6 separate regions of the Homo sapiens genome follow, and all the other regions are linked to region 3. Evidence: promoter capture Hi-C in 16 types of primary human blood cells and fetal thymus (Javierre and others, 2016). All regions are on one chromosome and are shown on one strand. The core of a region is centred on a gene start or on the middle of the fragment in contact, and the rest is flanking DNA. Distances in the headings are between cores, read along the strand shown.

The links. The method cuts DNA at HindIII sites, captures the fragments that hold promoters and counts their contacts. A CHiCAGO score of 5 or more calls a contact.
Region 1: the fragment with the promoter of CTRL here is called in contact with the fragment with the promoter of GFOD2 in region 3 in 11 of 17 cell types (erythroblasts, megakaryocytes, endothelial precursors and 8 more); the score reaches 10.9 in erythroblasts.
Region 2: a fragment that was not itself captured here is called in contact with the fragment with the promoter of GFOD2 in region 3 in 1 of 17 cell types (neutrophils); the score reaches 5.5 in neutrophils.
Region 4: a contact is called between a fragment that was not itself captured here and the fragment with the promoter of GFOD2 in region 3, in 1 of 17 cell types (endothelial precursors). The highest score is 5.4, in endothelial precursors.
Region 5: a contact is called between the fragment with the promoter of AGRP here and the fragment with the promoter of GFOD2 in region 3, in 2 of 17 cell types (endothelial precursors and fetal thymus). The highest score is 5.4, in endothelial precursors.
Region 6: a fragment that was not itself captured here is called in contact with the fragment with the promoter of GFOD2 in region 3 in 1 of 17 cell types (endothelial precursors); the score reaches 5.1 in endothelial precursors.

The regions. Positions count from the first base shown.
Region 1 is chr16:67,930,524-67,933,678 of GRCh38, forward strand. It overlaps CTRL (chymotrypsin like), which reads right to left and starts at 1,339. Exons shown (of 7, transcript NM_001907.3): 1 at 1,278-1,339; 2 at 575-678; 3 at 397-476; 4 at 203-284; 5 at 1-65. The coding sequence starts at 1,329. RefSeq lists enhancers at 1-313, 314-830. The HindIII fragment of the contact is 4,510 bases long and covers 1-2,139 here.
Region 2 is chr16:67,545,253-67,548,434 of GRCh38, forward strand. RIPOR1 (RHO family interacting cell polarization regulator 1) reads left to right here. Exons shown (of 22, transcript NM_024519.4): 18 at 124-282; 19 at 412-608; 20 at 697-780; 21 at 889-979; 22 at 1,114-1,534. The coding sequence ends at 1,211. Among named protein-coding and RNA genes, the nearest start is that of CTCF-DT, 15 kb to the right of the region's middle. RefSeq lists an enhancer at 1,745-1,804 and a silencer at 1,754-2,048. The HindIII fragment of the contact is 5,451 bases long and covers 1-3,182 here.
Region 3 is chr16:67,717,989-67,721,233 of GRCh38, forward strand. It overlaps GFOD2 (Gfo/Idh/MocA-like oxidoreductase domain containing 2), which reads right to left and starts at 1,328. Exons shown (of 3, transcript NM_030819.4): 1 at 1,175-1,328. RefSeq lists an enhancer at 646-725 and silencers at 1,086-1,135, 1,196-1,245. The HindIII fragment of the contact is 1,149 bases long and covers 375-1,523 here.
Region 4 is chr16:67,565,652-67,569,177 of GRCh38, forward strand. All of the region lies in intron 1 of CTCF (CCCTC-binding factor), which reads left to right. Among named protein-coding and RNA genes, the nearest start is that of CTCF, 4.9 kb to the left of the region's middle. The HindIII fragment of the contact is 4,800 bases long and covers 1-3,526 here.
Region 5 is chr16:67,481,750-67,484,967 of GRCh38, forward strand. It overlaps AGRP (agouti related neuropeptide), which reads right to left and starts at 1,798. Exons shown (of 4, transcript NM_001138.2): 1 at 1,768-1,798; 2 at 1,520-1,652; 3 at 1,276-1,361; 4 at 822-1,069. The coding sequence starts at 1,649. The coding sequence ends at 887. It overlaps ATP6V0D1-DT (ATP6V0D1 divergent transcript), which reads left to right. Exons shown (of 4, transcript NR_184227.1): 2 at 2,361-2,579. The HindIII fragment of the contact is 2,406 bases long and covers 1-2,110 here.
Region 6 is chr16:67,503,573-67,506,996 of GRCh38, forward strand. ATP6V0D1-DT (ATP6V0D1 divergent transcript) reads left to right here. Exons shown (of 4, transcript NR_184227.1): 4 at 453-2,831. Among named protein-coding and RNA genes, the nearest start is that of AGRP, 22 kb to the left of the region's middle. RefSeq lists an enhancer at 1,156-1,265. The HindIII fragment of the contact is 2,646 bases long and covers 607-3,252 here.

The sequences.
Region 1 (3,155 bases), core at 89-2,588, 210 kb after region 3:
GCGAGCTTCAGCAGCGTCACGTCATTGTTCATGGTGGTAGAGTTCCAGCTAGGGTGTGTAATGGCCTGTGGGGTCAGAAACAGTCCATGTTCTGATGGGTGCTGAGCAGGGTAGGCCAGGGCATGTCCTGAATTCCTCGTTCCCAGCACCCACCCACCTGCACTGCCCACTTTTCCTCCGTGTCTGCAGCCCAGGCACTCACCCGAGAGACGGACAGAACCTGCAAGGGCTCTGCGTTTGATGATCGGTCATACTCGCCCAGGACAACAAAATGGCGGCCAGGGCTGCAAGGGGGTGGGATTAGGCAGCTGCAGGGAGGCCAGCGCGAGAGGGGGACAGCCAGGGGAGGAGGCAGGAAGAGGCGAGGGGCGGGGCAGGTGGAATGCAGGCACTCACCTGACATTGCAGTGGGCAGCAGTGACCACCCAGGACTGGCTGATGAGAGAACCACCGCAGAAGTGGAAGCCGCTGCTGTCCTGTGGTCAGGGCTCAGAGGTCAGAGTGGGGGTGGGCTGCTGAGGCTGCCCCTAGGCATGACGTACCCAGGACCCTGCCCACCCCTCTGGTGGTGTACCTGCAGGGACACCTGCCAGGGCCAGGAGCCCAACACTGCATTCTCCCCGTTGACAATCCTCTGGCTGAAGCTCAGTGCCGGTTTGATGGCAGGAATGCCGCAGCCTGGCCATTGGGCTAATGAGGACCTGCTTCCCATGCCTCAGCCCATCTTTCCCCACCTCCTTTTGGGTGCCCCAGGCTGTGCACCCCAGAGAGGTCTGTCGAGAGGGTACAGCACTACCCCTTCCCCAACAGGGTACATGCAAGCACCTTCGGGCCCCACAGCTATCTTGGTTATCCCTATCCACCCAGTCCCCCAGCCCTGCTGTTCTCCTACATCTGTCTCCAGCCTAGTCCCCGCTGTTCCCCATCTCTACCCCTGGTCTCTCTGCCCCCTCCCGACCTGAACAGTTCATACCCTTCATGCAGCCAGAAGGTTCTTTCTAAAAGACATGGACAGGTCTTCCTGTCTCAGCTTCCTAAACCCTCCCGGGCTCCAGGGCCTGGCTCAATCTCTGGTCCTATTTGTGAGACCACCCCACCTCTTGCCCCCTCCCAGCCCTGCAGGCCTGTTCCCTGCTCCACTGCCCTGGCATATCCTGTTTCTTTTGCCCACTCTGTCCACCTTCGTCCCTTCCAGCCAGCCTAGCTCCTTCCCTGGGCTGTTGCTGGGAGCTGAGTTGCTCCCAGGGCTGAATCAGGGCTGGTCCTGGCCCACTCACCCCAGGAGGAGCCGAGGAGAACCAGGCTTAGGGTCAGGCTGAGCAGCAACATCGTGGCAGATGTGAGGTTGGGAGCTGGGTCTGGCTTTATGGGTCTTCTCGTCCTTGAGCTAAAGCTCCAGGCCTGAGGCCAGGCCAGCTGTGTAGACTCAGCCCCCTCCCACGCTCCAGGCAAGACAGGCCCTTTAGGCCAAGGTCCCCTGACCGAGACCTAGACTTATCAGACAGAGCCCAGGTGTGAGACTCACCTCTGCCACCTCCCAAAGCCTGGCCTCTAATTGGCTCCCAGAACCACCTCCCATTCCAAATGTTGAGCCCTCGGTACTGAGGACAGATGGTTAAATTAGGTCTATAGTGACAACCTGGTGGCTGGGATCACAGGAGTCACCCAGGGCTAACAAAGGCACCAGGCTTTCAGAGAAGGCCGCTCAGCGTCCAGGGTGTTCTGACTGGTGGATGGAATGCTCACTGCGGTCAACTTTGCTGTGAAGGGCCAGGGGCTGTGAGGTTCTGGCAGGCTGGGAGTCCTAACACATCATCGCAGTGGTTCCTCGTCCATTTGGAACAGGAGTCACAGGTCTGCTCAGAGATGGTGACTCTCCCACCAGCACGTGGTTGAGTTGTACACAAACTCGCATTTGTCTGGCGCTGAAGCCTCCGCTCTTAACAATGAGATGATACTTATGAAGGGCCTGGCATTTAGGAGGGCAAAGTGTGAGCTCTTGGTGCCTGGCCGACCGTGGACTGAGGCTGCAGGTGGAGAGTGACAGACATCAAATCTCTGCCACCCTCTTTAGGCCTTGGGGCTCCCATGGGCAAGCCCCTGGTGTCTGTAGCCCATTTGTTACTGAGCTGCAGACCAAGCTTGAAGGGAGAAGACACCCTGTGTGCAAAGTTCCAACAGGTGCATTGGCTGGCGGCCTTCTGGGAGTGTGAGGGCTTTAACTGATTCAAGAACAGATCAGGGCTGGGTGTGGTGGCTCACACCTGTAATCCCAAAACTTTGGGAGGCAGACGTAGGAGGCTTGATTCCAGGAGTTCGAGACCAGCCTGAGCAACATCATGAAACCCTGTCTCTACAAAAAAAATTTTTTTAAATTAAGAAATGAGCTGGGTATGATGGTACACACCTGTAGTCCCAGCAACTCAGAAGGCTGAGGCAGGAGGGATCACTTGAGCCCTTAAGTTCAAGGCTGCAGTGAGCCATGAGTGCACCACTGCATTCCGGCCTGGGCGATGGAGCTAGACCCCATCTCAAAGAAACAGCATCAGCCAAAAAATGAGATGAATTGGCTGGGCACGGTGGCTCACGCCTGTAATCCCAGCACTTTGGGAGGCCGACGCGGGCGGATCATGAGGTCAGGAGATCAAGACCATCCTGGCTAACAGGTTCAGTAGAAACCTCGTCTCTACTAAAAATACAAAAAAAAAAAAAATTAGCCGGGCGTGGTGGCGGGCACCTGTAGTCCCAGCTACTCGGGAGGCTGAGGCAGGAGAATGGCGTGAACCTGGGAGGCGGAGCTTCCAGTGAGCTGAGATTGCGCCACTGCACTCCAGAGCCTGGGTGACAGAGCGAGACTCCGTCTCAAAAAAAAAAAAAAAAAAAAGGAGCGATGAATTAATGGATAGAGGGATGAATAGATGATAAAACAAATATAACAAAATATTTGCACTCCAGAGCCTGGGTGACAGAGCGAGACGCCGTCTCAAAAAAAAAAAAAAAAAAAAAAAAAGGAGCGATGAATTAATGGATAGAGGGATGAATAGATGATAAAACAAATATAACAAAATACTGTCAGGTCTGTGGTGACCTGACAGTATAAGGGTATTCAATATACAACTCTTTCTACTTTTCTGTTACATTTACAAATGTTCATT
Region 2 (3,182 bases), core at 446-2,945, 170 kb before region 3:
AGGACCCAGATGGGTGGGGTTTGAACAGGGGGCCCCTGGACCTGAGCCTGGGATAGGAGCATCTCTCCCCTCTAAAAGCTGTGTTCACCCAAACTCTGAGGCCCATGCTACTGCCTCCTGCAGTGTGTGTGAAGTTCCTGGAGGATGCCCTGGGGCAGAAGCTGCCCAGAAGGCCCCAGCCAGGGCCTGGAGAGCAGCTCACAGTCTTCCAGTTCTGGAGTTTTGTGGAAACCTTGGACAGCCCCACCATGGAGGCCTACGTGACTGAGACCGCTGAGGAGGGTGAGGCGGTGGCCCTGATCACATAGTGGCCTCTTGGGGTCTGAGGACATGAGGACAAGCCCTCCCCAACCTCGGGGGCTCCTCACCCTGCCACCTTGCCCACCCACCCACCATATCCCCTTTTTTCAGTGCTACTGGTGCGGAATCTGAACTCGGATGATCAGGCTGTTGTGCTGAAGGCCCTGAGATTGGCGCCCGAGGGGCGTCTGCGAAGGGACGGGCTGCGGGCCCTCAGCTCCCTGCTCGTCCATGGCAACAACAAGGTCATGGCTGCTGTCAGCACCCAGCTCCGGAGCCTGTCACTGGGCCCTACCTTCCGGGAGAGGGTGAGTTGGACAGGGCTCCCTTGAGGGCGAGGGCTGGGGTCCTGGACTCCCACTGTCTGGCTAAGTCTGTCCTCCCACCCTTCCACAGGCCCTCCTGTGCTTCCTGGACCAGCTGGAGGATGAGGACGTGCAGACTCGAGTGGCTGGCTGCCTGGCCCTAGGCTGCATCAAGGTGACCCCTGCCAACCCTCCCACCCCTCTGTCCGCTTCCGGCACCCCCACCCCTGAAACCCTCCCATCTGCTCCCCTGAGCCCACCTCAATGCTCCCTCCCCTGACAGGCTCCCGAGGGCATTGAGCCCCTGGTGTACCTCTGCCAAACTGACACAGAAGCTGTGAGGGAAGCTGCCCGGCAAAGCCTACAGCAGTGTGGTGAGGCTGGGGGATGGAAGAGATGGGTGGAGTTCTGGGACATCTTGGCTGATGGGAGTAGGAGAGATGGCGCCAGGGGTGGGAGAGTGGGATGGGGCTAGGGCCACCCTTGACCTCATCCTCACTCATTACAGGAGAAGAGGGACAGTCTGCCCATCGACGGCTGGAGGAGTCCCTGGACGCCCTGCCCCGCATCTTTGGGCCTGGCAGCATGGCCAGCACAGCATTCTAAACTATTCACCCATGGGTTCCTGGTGCCCCTTTCCCCCCACTTTCAGGGCTCACCAGGCACTGGCAGGGAGGGTAAGGGCTGGCTCCAGATACCCCTCCCCCACAGATTCCTAGCAATGAAAATCTAATATATTCTTCTGTTGCCCCTGGGGTTGGAGAGTCAGTGCCTGCAGTCAAGTGCCTCCCAGCCTCGGCTCAGCACATCCCTTGCCACAAATCAGTGTCTGGGGCTTGGCCACCCTGCCGCTGCCCAGCCACATCCCTTGGTTTTGTATTTTATTTACAGAGTTTTACAGAAAATAAAAAAGCAAAATGTCTTTCCTACATGGCCTGGTACACTCCTGACCCTCTGCTCCAACACCCTCTGGCTGTGGCCCTGCCTGACACTGGTGTGTTCACACTGCAGCTGTGACAGTGCCATGTGCACTTGCCCTGGAAATTCAGGTGGAAGAAAGCCCAGAGGCTGGAACTGGGCTTGGAGAAGAGAGCAGGGGAAAAGGGTGGTTCAGCCTGCAGGTGGGGCCTACCCTGGGCCTGGGAACTACGGCCCAAGGTGGAGCTAAACTGGAGTTGGCCCAGAAAACACCAAAGGGTGCCAATCCCAGGCTGTGGCCTGGGAGCAAAGGGGAAGGGAAAGGAAAAACAGGAAGGGAAAGGAGGCACGGGGTGGCTGGAGCTTCTGCCCACCAGGGGGCAGCAGATCCGCGTCAGCAGATGCCAGGTTTGGGTCTTCTGCAGCCTGGGCAGCTTTCTGCAGAGGGGGCTGAAGGAGCTCCTTGAAGCTGGATGGCAGGGGAGAGGAGCTCCTTGCGGAGGGGAAGAGCTGGGACCTGGGAGGCAGGAGACCTGGATGGCTAACCTGTGACCCAAGACAGCAAGTCCCTTCCCTCTCCAGCTGTCTCCCCCTCTATAATAACAAACGTGCCTGAACTCTGTGATCCCCAACAGCCGGCCAACCTGTGCTGCTTCAGGAAGCAGAGATCCCAGGAGAGGGCTTGCCTTTGCCCCGCCTCGCCTTGCCCCAGAGCTGCCTGGCCAGTGAATGTGTTAACCCCAGAAGGCTGAGTCCTGCGTGAGGAACTGGAGTGTGGGGTGGGACTTCAGGATGGCAGGCCTGTTCTAAGGAGGGGCTGAGGGAGGCCCACACCCGTGGCTAGAGAAACAGGCTCTCCACCCTTCCCCTCTCCCTCAGCACTTCCAGTATCCAGGGGCAAGGAGGTGGTGCATACGCAGCACTTCCCTGACTCATTGAGGCCACTCTGATGTCCCAGTACCTGTGGCAGCAGCTTGGCCTGTGCAGGACGTGTCACGTTGGGGAGCCTGCCCTCAGGAAGAGCCAGTGAAGTGCCAACAGTCCTCTGGAGGGTGACCCAGATCCCCAGGGAGCCCTGCCCCCCAGTGTTTTAGAGCTAGGTATGAAGAGGTTTGGCTGGGGCTTTAACCACCTGCTGGGGAAGCCAAGCTGAGCAGAAAAAACGGCAACAGGAAGAAGCACAGGAAGCACCTGTGTGGATGCAAGTGGCTCATTCCAGACGCTGGGGCGAGGGTGGGCAGGGGCAGGCAGGCAGCCCTCTGCACACTGGCGCGGCTCTTTGCTCTCTGGGTAACGAAGGGTGGCACGGGATGGTGCAGCTCAGTATTTGGGGTGGTGAGCTGGAGCAGCATGGGGCAGAGGAGGCAAACAAATGATGGAGACCAGGCCAGCACCCAAGGCTGGCCACAGCTGGGGCCTGCCCCAGGGGTCCCTGGAGGAGGCCGGCAATCCCAGAACCGCCCCTAGCAGCCCTCAGTCCTGAGGCCCCCACAAGAGGCCCATTGGTAGAGCAGGGCTATCCACCTGCATCAAAAGCATAGCCTGTCATGGTGGGGGAAGAGGAAGTGAACACTGGTTGACCAGGTCCTGGGAAAGTGCAGATGGGGGTGACTGAGCCTGCATGAGCTCACAGCTCAGTACACAGGAGAGAGCAGGGCT
Region 3 (3,245 bases), core at 78-2,577:
AGCAGTTAATTTTTTCACGTTTCCTGTAAAATGGATGGCCTTAAAACTCTTTTGTTCTCTAGTGTAGCTTTCCAGAAGGAAATAAGTTTCCTTATCAAGAATGAATCTAGCTTCCCCGACTCAAAAACAACCATCTTCTCTATATTGCTCCATATCACAATAAATTTAAGTGCCTTCCTTTTCTAAATTAAATGCTGTTCCCTTCAACTTAAGGGCCACACACTAAGGGCTATTCCTTTAGAGGCTTTTGGGCCCCACAGATCACAAAGGTGGTGCCCTGCCCTAGTTCTTTCTGGACATTTAAAAGGACATCCACTTTCTTGCCCTCAGGATAACATTATGGGAACAATGAACATAAATAAGACAGTTAAATAAGCTTCCCTGATGCCTATCCAATACAGCTTTCAACTCTTCTATCCTGCCTTGTTCTTTAGATCGTGCTGTAGTCTGGAGGGTAAACTCTTCACACAACCATTCCCAAGCCCTCATGTCCCTGTCCACTCTTCCTCCCTCACCTTTTAAGTGTGATAGGGCCTTGATGGGAAGACCTCACTTCACCTTTTGTCTCAAGTCCATCTGCTTCCTTCCAGAGCTACAAATACAAAGGTAGGCCAGGGCCATTGAGACGTGGCCATAGGGCACATGGGAGCTGGCAGAGCCACTCGCACCTTCTGGGGTGTCCCTTCTTCCACCTGTCAACTGAACACCCGTTTCTTAAAGATTTATCCCCAAAAGTCCCATCTCATTCTGAAAGGGGACGAACCAGCTACCCCACGAGCCCTTTGTCTGAGCTTCTACACCTCACACATCCTCATCCACAAAGCGTCCATCCTCACACAGTCAGGTGGTCCGCTCGGCACAGGGCGGGGGAGACTAGGTTTTTGCATCTGGTAAAAGGATGGGTTATGTCTCAGGTTCTTCCAGGATCCCAAATCCTATAATTCTACCACCAAGCCTGCGGGTCCTATTTCTGCGGTGGAAAGGGCGAATCCCAAGGCGACCCTCCACTCCACGCGCCTGCAGGCAGTTGGAACAAGCCCCCTCCAACCCCGGCTCTGCGGGTCCACGCCTCCAACCTCCGGCGCCGGGCCGCGGAGAAGGCCCTGTCGGCGCCCGCTCCCGGCCGCGCCATGCCCTCTTTCGCCCTCACCCGCCACCGGTGGCCGCCTCTCACCTGGCACGCTGGCATCGCCCACTCCGCGCTGCACTGGAAACCATGGGTCCGACGGGGTCTCGGGGGCCACCCATCCGCCTTAAGGAAGGCTGGCGGGGATGCGCGGGCCCGGGAGTCCAGGGCGCCGCCACCGGGAACGCGCCGCCTGGTTTCTAAGGAACTGGGGGCTCTGGAAAGGGAGGGGCGGGACGGCAGGAGGACTGCGCATGCTCCATAACGGGGATGGGCCTGCGCTGGGAGGGGCCGTAGCCGGGAGCTGCGCATGCTCGCTTTTTGGGGGCGGAGCTTAAGCAGCCTGGCTAGGAGGCTCAGGTTATTCATTTCCGGCGGCGGAGGCGGCAGTTTCCTAAGCTTGGCTTCTCTCCGGTCCGCTGACCGGCGTCAGGGACCAGGTTTTGGTAGCTGTGGGTAGCCTCAGTTGTCCTGGAATGAAAGACGGTTTCGTGTTGGACAAGGACATATCTGCAGAAGGCCAGTTCTCTCGAACTCGTCGGACTTCCTGGCTCCCTGACCCCCAGTGACTCGTTTTTCCGTTTTCTCAGGTGCCTGTCTGGGCTCCTCTTCCTCTGGATGTTTTTTGATTGTTCCTTAAATATCAGTGCTCTTCAAGACTGTAACCTCAGTCCCCTTGGCCTCTTTACTGAAGCCTATGCCCCACCAAATAGCAAACTATCCGCTAGAGTAAGGAAGCCGTTAGACCTTAGAATAAAACTGCCTGTGTAGGAAATGTGATTGGGGTTTGTATCTGCATGGGGAGCCCCCGTCCCTGCTTGTCTGACCCTCCTGCTGAGTATCAAGATCCCCACTCAGCTGGCATTAGGATGATCTCCCAGCCATCATTCCAGAGCAGCCTGTGGTGACAGAATATGTCAGCTGACCTAAGCGTGAGGCAGTTCCTACTGAGATATGCTAACTAGCAGCAGAGCTATCCCTGCTTTGAGCGGAGACAGGACTCCTACCACCTCTGTGAGGAGCATGGAAGGCTTCCAAAGTGATGAGAAGTTGTAACCCCTAAACCCCCCCTCTTCTGATGGGATTTTATCCTTTCTCTCCTGGATCCTCTAGAGCCAGGCAGAAGGAAGGCAGAGTCAAAATGTGCCTGTTTGATCTGTTTCTTAGTCATTGTTCGGAGTTCCACTCTTCTTGAGTAGGATTTCTCAACAGTGGCACTATTGACATTTTGGACCTGATAATTCTTTGTTGGGCAGGGGTGGGGGGAGCTGTCTGCATTGTAGGATGTTTGGCAGCATCCCTGGCTCTACCCAGTAGATGCCAGTAGCACCCCAAGCCCAGTTGTGACTACCAAAAATATCTCCAGACATTGCCAAGTGTCTCCCTGGGAGCAAAATCATTCCCAGTTGAGAACCACTAGTCTAGGGGGAAATGAGCCTACTCTGGCTTTACTTATATAGAACCAGGACTTTATGCTTAATCTAAAACCCATATTTTCCCCTTTATGCTACCTCTTCCCTAAGAGCATTCTATAGAGTAATAGTCCTGTAAGATTCTGCTGAGTGACACAGTCTGTAGTAACTTAAGTTTGGAAAGTGCAGGGTTAAGCAACACATTTTAACACAGGATTGAGCTTTTAATTAGCTGGTGGCGATCACTGTGAACATCCATAAGACAGTTTTCCTAATTTACTGGACCACCTCCCAATTCCAGTGACTTTTTTACTGGCAAACCTCCCCTAATTTACTGGCAAACCTCCCAATTCCAGTGACTTTTAGCCACTGCCTGCCCCCTTCTGTTCTGTGTTATTTTGTGGTACTATTATCCATCCCATCACCCCCAACCAAAGTCTGCATTTGCCTTGTCTCTTGCTTCTCCTATTTCCCTCACATTCAGTTATTCATCTTGTACCTCCAATTCTCTCCTAAATCTTTCTCAAACCTGCCCTCTTTGCAGCCTCCTACCTGGGTTCTTTTGCTCCAATTTGTCTCCAGTACCACCTTCAGGTGGACACCAGCATGATCTACCGTATCCCTCCTCTGCATAAAACCCTGGTGCCTCGGGGACAGGGCAGGCAGGAGTGGGCCAGTCACACCACTGGGCATCCTCATGGAGGAAG
Region 4 (3,526 bases), core at 248-2,747, 150 kb before region 3:
AACAGAGCAAGACTCTTATCTCAAAAAAAAAAAAAAAAAAAAAGAGTAGTTGTAAAGGTTAACTTTATCGGGATCCATTCAACCTATGTAAGAATTTAAGAGGTGAAGTTGTCCTTAAGATGCATTCAAATTCTAAGAGCTTTAGGATTTTATTTTAAAGTACACACGCAAATGGGGGCACTCACCTGGGACTTCTGAATGGCTTGGGGAGTTCCTTGGTGGAAGCCACTTGTGGCTGACTTAAGGCCCTGGGGAGGAATCCTGGGCAGAGCCTTGCAGGCTGGTGCCTCCTGGCCAAAAGTCACCTCTAGAGACTGCTTTTTTTGCTTCAGGGATGCTGCTGCTGTCACAGCCATTCCACATCATCTACGTTATAGACTCCACCTAATTTTTTTAAACTAGACCATCTGTCTGCCTAATTTACCTGTCTTGGCTCCAGATGACTTGACTGTTTTGCCAAAAATTAGGCCCCTCTTCAAACAACTCAGATGCATTATGATTTAAAAAGAACAATAATGGCAAATAATGTGTAACTTTGAAGACCATGGTTCTCAATTGATGTGATTTGTAGGTGGGACATGGTGGCTCACACCTGTAATCCCAGCACTTTGGGAGGCTGAGGCGGGCGGATCACCTGAGGTCAGGAGTTTGAGACCAGCCTGGCCAACATGGTGAGACCCCATCTTTACCAAAAACACAAAAATTAGCTGAGCGTGGTGGCATATGTCTGTTTCTGTAATCCCAGCTACTCAGGAGGCTGAGTCAGGAGAATCACTTGAACCCGGGAGGCGGAGGTTGCAGTGAGTCAAGATCGTGCCGTTGCACTCCAGCCTGGGTGACAGAGTGAGACTTTGTCTCAAAATTAAAAAAAAAAAAAAAAAAAAAAAAAGATTAGTCTTACCACATTTGTTTTGTTGTTCTTGTGGGGTATTTGTTTGTTTTGGAGATGGAGTCTCGCTTTGTCTACCAGGCTGGAGTGCAGGGGCACGATCTCGGCTCACTGCAAGCTCTACCTCCCAGGTTCACGCCATTCTCCTGCCTCAGCCTCCCGAGTAGCTGGGAGGACTACAGGCGCCTGCCACCACGCCTGGCTAATTTTTTGTATTTTTAGTAGAGACGGGGTTTCACCGTGTTAGCAAGGATGGTTTCGATCTCCTGACCTGCCCGCCTCCGCCTCTCAAAGTGCTGGGATTACAGGCGTGAGCCACCGTGCCCGGCCTGTGGGGTTTGTTTGTTTGTTTTAAGACAGGGTCTTTCTCTTTTACCCAGGCTGGAGTGCAGTGGTGTGATCACAGCTCACTGCAGCCTCCACCTCCCTGGCTCAAATGATCCTGCCACCTCAGCCTCCTGGGTAGCTGGGACTAATTTTTTCTAGGTATGGGGTTTTGTCATGTTGCCTAGGCTGGTCTCAAACTCGTGGCCTCAAGCAGTCTGTCTGCCTTGGCCTCCCAAAGTGCTGGGATTAGGTGTGAGCCACCGTGTCCAGCCCATTTTTTTTAAACACCTGTAAACTTTCTGTAGTCTGTCTTCGTATCTTTCCTGCTAGTATCTTTGTGCATTTTCTCAGTGATTTAATATTTGAATGCAAAGTTGTGGCATTGCATATAGACTGCCAAAATACAGTCCAAAGGTGAGGGTTAGGATGGTATTCTTTCACACTTGATCCTTGTTTTTGGTCACTCTTGGAATTTTCAGGGGTAGAAAATTTCATTCCCTTTGAGGTATGCTGGTAATAATAATGGACTCCAGTATGGAAGTGTTGGTTGGACTAAATATGCTAATCACCTATTTGTGTTACTAAAAATTGCCTCTCAACAGAGGAGACTTTAGCTTCATCTAAGTATTAGTGAGTTTTGTGGAGTTTAGCTAATTGTGAGATGGATTTCCTCTTAGAAGATGTACCTCATGTGCCAAATTGCTTGGAAACTTTTTTTTTTTAATACATTTTGATTGAGGCAGTGGCATGATCATAGCTGTTGCCCAGATAGGAGTGCAGTGGCATGATCATAGCTCACTGCAGCCTTGAACTCCTGGGCTCAAGCAGTCTTCCTGCTGCAGCCTCCCAAGTAGCTGGTACTATAGGCGTGTGCCACCATGCCCAGCTGATTCTTTTATTTTTTTGTAGAGACAGGATCCTACTATGTTGCTCAGGCTGGTCTTGAACTCCTGGGCTCAAGCAAGTCTCCCACCTCGGCCTCCCAAAGTGTTGACGTTACAGGTGTGAGCCACCATACTCGGCTTTTTTTTTTTTTTTTTTTTTTTTTGAGACAGGTTGTCACTGTGTTGCCCACACTGCAGTGCAGTGGTGTGATCATGGCTCACTGCAGCCTTGTCCCCCACCTGCCCCAAGCGATCCTCCCACCTCAGCCTTCCAAGTAGCTGGGACCACAGGCACACAACACCATGCCTGGCATATATATGTATACGTGTATATATATATATTTTTTAAGATGGAGTTCACTCTGTCTCCCAGGCTGGAGTGCAGTGGCATGTTCTGGGCTCACTGCAACCCCGGCCTCCCAGGTTCAAGTGATTCTCCTGCTTCAGCCTCGGGAGTAGTTGGGATTACAGGTGCCTGCCACCGTGCCGAGCTAATTTTTGTATTTTTAGTAGAGACGGGGTTTCACCATGTTGGCCAGGCTGGTCTGGAACTCATGACCTCAGGTTATCCACCCACCTCGACCTCCCAAAGTGCTGGGACTACAGACGTGAGCCACCATGCCTGGCCTTTTTTTTGTTGTTGTTCTTCTTCCCTGAGACGAAGTCTTCCTCTGTCACCCAGGCTGGAGTGCAGTGGTGCGATGGTGGCCCACTGCAACCTCCGTCTCCCGGGTTCAACCAGTTCTCCTGCCTCAGCCTCCTGAGAAGCTGGGATTACAGGTGCATACCACCATGCCCAGCTAGTTTTTGTATTTTTAGTAGAGACTGGGTTTCACCACGTTGGCCAGGGTGGTCTCGAACTCTAACCTCATGATCCACCCGCCTGGGCCTCCTAAAGTGCTGGGATTACAGGCGTTAGCCACTGTGCCCGGCCTGCCTGGCTAATTTTTATGTATTTTGTAGAGACGGGGTTTTGCCATGTTGCCCTGACTGGCTTTGAACTCCTAGGCTCGAGCAGTCCTCTGCTGTGGCCTCTCAAAGTGCTGGATTGCTGGTGTGAGCCATCACACCTGGCTATATTATTTGGAAACTCTTTTTTTTTTTGAGACTGAGTCTTGCTCTGTTGCCCAGGCTGGAGTGCAGTGGTGTGATCTTGGCTCACTGAAACCTCTGCTTCCTGGGTTCAAGCGATTCTCCTGCCCCAGCCTCCTGAATAGCTGGGATAACTGGCACACACCACTACGCCTGGTTAATTTTTGTATTTTTTTTAGTAGAGACAAGGTTCCACTATGTTGGTCAGGCTGGTCTTGAACTCCTGACCTTGTGATCCGCCTGCCTTGGCTTCCCAAAGTGCTGGGATTACAGGCGTGAACCACTGTGCCTGGCCTATTTGGAAACACTTAGTTCAAATTTAGCTCTTTATTTC
Region 5 (3,218 bases), core at 548-3,047, 240 kb before region 3:
AGGGAGAGTGCCTTGGATTGGCTGCGGGCCAAGCACGGGCCATCCCTTCATCTGCATAGGGCGCCAATTCACCTTAGCCCCATTTATGCCTTGTGTTCCATTATTGGAACGCTAAGCATATGGGAGTTATTTATATCCTACTGCTCAAGGTCATGGCCAAGGTCTGATTGCAAAAATTCAAAAAGATTGCAACCTCAGGCATAAATGGATTAATTAGCCATGGACCAAACCCTTCATCCAGATAAGGGGTAACGGACAGGGACCGCAAAAGGAGTACTTAAAACCCGGAAAACTTTGTAACTGAGCCCCTTCAGCCTCTTGCTCAGGCCCACTCCCACCCTGCGTAGTGCTTTCTCGCTTTAACAAATCCCAGCTGTCTGCTTCCTTCCTGTGTGTCATTCGTTTGTTACTTTCTGGGTTTTGTTCAATTCTTTGTTCGAAACGCTAAGGACCTGAACAACGCACACTCCTGGCCTTCCCTCTGGTAACAGGATGAGGGGCAGGCTTTGCGTGGAAGTAGCAGCAAGCCCTGGAGCCTAAGGCTTATTTGTTAGCCAGGAGTGATAGCCCCTGTGCCACGCTGCGTCCTGCGTTCCCCGCACTTGCTGTACAAGATTTTCGAAAGCTGGAGTGCGGCTCTTCTCTATTTTTCCCAGGGGCACCAGGACCCCTAAAAGCGCCCGTGTATGTGCCTCCTATGATAGGGTAGCCCAGGCCCTGGGATAAGAGTATGTGTGGTTTCTTGGCTTGGTGACACTCCCACCCCCTCCATGAACCCTCCCTCCTTTGACGGCCACGTTTGAAATAACCACAGCCTTGGGGTTGGTCCCATCCTTTATTCGAGTTTCCTTGCCCCTACCCTAGCCCCGACCCTGACGTTGGCCAGCTAGGTGCGGCTGCAGGGATTCATGGCAGTACCCAGCTTGCGGCAGTAGCAGAAGGCATTGAAGAAGCGGCAGTAGCACGTGGCACATGGGTCACAGCAAGGCACCTGCTGTCCCAGGCAGGACTCATGCAGCCTTACGCAGCGACGTGAGGAGCGGGGCTCGCGGTCCTGCAGGTCTAGTACCTGCAGGGGTGGGGAACCAGCACAGGCCTCTAAAGACAGATCCAGGGATCTTACCTGTCCCAACCTGTGCAGGATGGCAGTGGAGCATGGGAAGGGGTGGTCGGTAGTGTCGTCGCTGGTGAGGGAGTTTGGAGCTGGGGAGAGGAGCTAATACCCAATGCCCCCTCCCAAGGGCCACCACCTTACCCTTTTCCCTGAGCAGTTACCTCTGCCAAGGCCTGAGCCTCCTGCAACAGATCCTCTTCTGCCTGTTCTGCAGTTGTCTTCTTCAGTGGGGCCCGCAGGCCCAGGCCTGGGGCAGAGGATGTGAGGGCAGGAACCCCCATGCACAAAGCACCCACCTCCCAGGGGAGGGTTTGGGAAGGGAGAAAGAGGGTTTATGCCAGGGGAGACTATTTGTGGCCAGAGGGTATTCAGGCCCCGCCCAGTCCCACCCTTGCTCACACTGACCTGGGAGCTCTGGGAGCAGGGCCTGGTCAGGCCTTCTGATGCCCTCCATGGGGGCCAAGCCCATCTGGGCTCCTCGCGTGGCAGGCAGTGCCAGCAGCAGGGCACAGCTCAGCACCGCTGCGGTCAGCATGGCCTGGCTCAGCAGGAAGATGTACCACTTAGTCCCTCCTTATCCTTGGAGTCCCCTCTAGGTGCCCAGATAGAGACCCCACAGAGAGGAGGAGTCCCTGCCCAACCTGAGGACTCACCTCTGCCTCCGGGATTCTTGCCTAGAGAGTTCCCGGCCACCCCGTGCCCTTGGCTTATATGGCAGGGCCTAATGAAGGGCCACACGTGACTGATCCCTGCAGCCAGGCCGTGAAGGACCCTTCCTGGAGGGTGGGGGCACAGTTCAGGCCCTCACTCCCTGAACCTGAGCCTTTTGTTCTACAAGAGGAGTGCCTATCTCCAATTTGGGGTGAGGTTTCCAGGAGCCGATTAAAATTTGGGAGCAAGAGAGGGTGCCCAGGGTCCACAAATTTCCACAGGACAGGGACCTAGGAGCTGAGCAGGGCTAGAACCATTAGCAATAACAAGGCAGGCGGCCCTGAAAGCTTAATTTAATTTGTGGCCCCAGAGATGCTTACTCAACCCCTATGTGGCATGTTGTTTCCTGTGCTTCCAAGAATTCGGGTCAAGGACATTGGAGCGGGTGATGGGCCAATGGCCACTGTTGGGCAGGGGTAGGTGCAGAACCAGAACCTGGGTTTCTTTGGAGGGAAAGGGGAAGGAAAAGCCCACCTAACCAATCCTAGGCCCTCCTGACTACATTTCTGGTCCTCCCCTCCCTTTCTCCCTCCAGGTTTCTCCAAGACCGCCCACTCCTGCTCCTGTCCCCAAACCCCTTTCTGCCTAGGGTTCCTGGAAGCCAAGGAAACAGAACGAACTGTTCCCTGGGTGGGCGAGCCACTGCAGAGTACAAAGCTTTCAGGCCGCCTGCCTCATTAGCACTAATGGCTGCTCCCTTCCGCCCTGTGTCGTCAGGACTGTCTATGCCTGGTCTCATCAGCACAAGGCTGGGGTAAGGACTGCCCTTTTGTGGAGATGGCAGGACATACAGGACCCTGCTGCCCCTGCCTTCCCTCACCCCACTGCAGAGCTGTTTATCACACACGTGTCCATCTGGGAAAGGAATGCAGGCTGAATCAGCTTTGAGAGGATCGCAAGGCCCCAGTGCACAAACTGGGTTGGCACAAGGCAGTGGAAAAAAGATGAAGGGGGCCAGGTATGGTGGCTCACACCTGTAATTCCAGCATTTTGAGAGGCCAAGGTGGGAGGATCACAAGGCCAGGGGTTTAAGACCAGCCTGGGTATCATGGTGAGACCCCGTTGCTACAAAAAATAAAAAAATAGCTGGGTGTAGTGGTGCATGCCTGTAGTAGAGGCTGAGGTGGGAGGATGGCTTGAGCACAGGGATTCAAGAGTGCAGTGAGCTATGACTGCATCACCACACTCCAGGCTGAGCGACAGAGCAAGATCCTGTCTCAAAAAGAAAAGAAGATAAAGGGTGGCCAGGCACGGTGGCTCACGCCTGTAATCCCAGCATTTTGGGAGGCCAAGGTGGGCGGATCACTGGAGGTCAGGAGTTCAAACCAGCTTGGCCAATATGGTGAAACCCTATCTCTACTAAAAATACAAAAGTTATTCAGGCATGGTGGCA
Region 6 (3,424 bases), core at 680-3,179, 210 kb before region 3:
AAAAGAAAGAAAGAGAAGGAAGGAAGGAAGGAAGGAAGAAAGGAAGGAAGGAAGGAAGGAAGGAACCATTCTTGACTTGTGGGTTATACAAAAACAGGCAGGGTTCCACTCCTGGCACTAGGTTTGTTCTTGTGTTTGTTCTCTGTTCAGGGTTATGCCACGCAGAGGGTAGGAGGGGAATTAGTCCATGGTTATGTGTCCTCACAGATGACCACTGAGAAGGCCACCATGCCTAGTCGTCACGACTCTAGGCCCAGCAACTTGCTGAAGACTCTGCAGTGCTGGGGACCCAGGCATTTTTGTGAGGCTGTCCACACCCTATCTGCCTGTGAGGACTGGGCAGTCCATCTGGGGGTCTGGCTGCCTCTCCTGCGTGCTGCTGGGAGGCTAGGCCTGACTGTCATTGCTCTACGGCCACATCCCCAGCCACGCTCTTCTTTTTCTTCTTTCAGCCAGAGGGAGCCCTGAATTCATGCAGAGGAGTTTTTCTACCTTCCATCTGCTTCTGCATATCATCTTGTCTACTTAATGCCCCTCCTTCCGGATTTATAGAACAGTATGCATAATATGACCCCAACTGCATTCCAAAAAATAGATGTAGATGTAAGCTTAGAGATGCAAAGAAACTTTTTGAGAGAATTCACTATGCTTCTCGCGGGTGGTGACACAGTTCAAGGAGGTTCCATGGGGTGTAATGTTTATCTTTCTCTTTTGTCCTTCTGATCATTGAAATGATGCTTTGTGTGTGTGAACATGTATTACTTTTATAATTAAAATAGAAAAATTAATTTGAATGGGACAAATGCTCGAAGTCAAAGTCACCTGTTATAACTGCTGTCACTAACAGGGCAACTGTTTGAAAATGCTGCAGAAACATGAGAAATGTTCATGAAGTGACCCTGTGGAGGCTTCCGGTCACAGGATCATGTGAGCGCCACGATCACCCCAGGGGTGGAGCAGATGCTAAGTGTTCACCACACCCAATTCTCTTCCTGGACACACAGGAAGATGACATTTCCAGTGACATGCCCCACCTCTAGGCCCTAGTCTTTTTTTTATTTAAAGGTCTGAGTCTTGTTCTGTCACCCAGGCTGGAGTGCAGTGCTGTGATCATGACTCACTGCAGCCTCAACCTCCTGTGCTCAAACAATCCTCCCACCTCAGCCTCCCTAATAGCTGATGTCATATAGGCATGAGCCAGTGTGCCTGGCTCAGGCCCTACCCTTAAAAGCATCCCACCTGATTCACCAGCCCCCTTCTCTCTCTCAGTAAACTTGGAAACCACGCATTCCAGATGGTATAATTTACAGCATGATGGAAAAAGCCAGCTCTCCATGGGAAGCTGGCCAGTCTTCATTGGAGTACATTTTTATTGCATGAAGCCAATGAGACTTGATATTGTTTAACTCTGTGGTTTCCAAAGTGCGGTCCTTTTGAAGTATCCATAAAGTCTACACTAGGTTCACGGTAATATTAAGATGTTATTTGTCAGCTGGGCACGGTGGCTCACGCCTATAATCTCAGCACTTTGGGAGGCCAAGGCAAATGGATAATGAGGTCAGGAGTTTCAGACCAGCCTGGCCAACATGGTGAAACCCAGTCTCTACTAAAAATACAAAAATTACCTGGGTGTGGTGATGCATGCCTGTAATCCCAGCTACTCAGGAGGAGGCTGAGGCAGGAGAATTGCTTGAATCCGGGAGGCAGAGATTGCAGTGAGCTGAAATCTCACCACTGCACTCCAGCCTGGGTGATGGAGCAAGACACTGTCTCAAAAAAAAAAAAAAAGATATTATTTGTCTTTCATGAGTGTACAGTGGGATTTTCCAGAGGCTACATGACATGTGTTTTTTTATTTTGTTTTTTATACTGACAGAGGGGTCTTGCTATGTTGCCCAGACTGGTCTTCCAACTCCTGGCCTCAAGTGATCCTCCCGCCTTCACCTCCCAAAGTGCTGGGATTATAGGTGTGAGCCACTGCGCCTGGCTGTTTGTGACATGTGATGTTGAAACAGGTTGAGTATAGAAGCAGATATGGGAATTAAACCAGAATATTAAACCAGACATTGAAGAGATTTGCAAAAAATACAAAACAATACCACTGTTTTCACTTTCTTTTTGGTTTGGAAAAATGTAGTTATTTTTCATTAAAAGTATGTTGTGTTGGCTGGGCACAGTGGCTCATGCCTGTAATCTCAACGCTGGGAGACTGAGGTGGGAGGATCACTTGAGATCAGGAGTTCGAGACCAGCCTGACCAACATAATGAAACCCCATCTCTACTAACAATATAAAAATTAGCTGGGCTGGCTGAGCGCGGTGGCTCACGCCTGTAATCCCAGCACTTTGGGAGGCCAAGGCGGGCGGATCATGAGGTCAGGAGATCGAGACCATCCTGGCTAACATGGTGAAACCCCATCTCTACTAAAAATACAAAAAATTAGCTGGGCGAGGTGGCGGGCGCCTGTAGTCCCAGCTGCTCAGGAGGCTGAGGCAGGAGAATGGCGTGAACCCAGCGGGCAGAGCCTGCAGTGAGCAGAGATCGCGCCACTGCACTCCAGCCTGGGCGACAGCAAGACTCCGTCTCAAAAAAAAAAAAAAAAAATAACTGGGCTTGGTGGCATGCGCCTATAATCCCAGCTACTTGAGAGGCTGAAGCAGAAGAATTGCTTGCACCTGGGAGGGGCAGGTTGCAGTGAGCCAAGATCGCACCACTGCACTCCAGCCTGGGCAACAGAGCAAGACACCTTCACCTTCTCAAAAAAAAAAAAAGTTGTGTTAACATGTAATGGTTTCATGATATCATTTTAAATAAATTAATAAACATGTAAACATTTTCTCTGTTTTAATTTCTCACATGGTAAATATTAATGGTGTGAACCAAAAAGTGACTGAGGCATCTCAATCAATTTAGAGGTTTATCTTGCCAAGGTTGAGGACACGCCCGGGGAAAAAGAGACACAAGTCACAGTACGATCTGTGTCCTGTGCTTTTTCCAAAGAGGAAAGAGGCAGCAGGAGGGGAGGGAGGAAAGGGGAAAAAAGCGGGCAGGAGGGTAGGCAGGGCGGCAAGTGGTGACATTGTTGTGAGGCTGTGATTAGCAGCTCAGTGACTCTACATTTTATATGTGAAAAGGGGTCGGGGGAGTCAACTATGCATTGTCTCGGGCTTAGTAGATCTACATTTTACATAACTAAGCCTGTGAAATTACAGCTGTCCGTTTGGGAAAGGAAGGCAGTTTTTGTGGTTCCCAAGCTTAACTTTCCCTTTGACATAATGAGTTTGGGGTCCCAAGATTTTATTTTCCTTTCATAATAGATATAACCAACATGAACAAAATTCTTTAGAATCCTCAAAAATACTGAAGAGTGAAAAGACGTCATGAGACCAAAAGGTTTGAGACCCTTTGCTCTGTGACAGCTAGC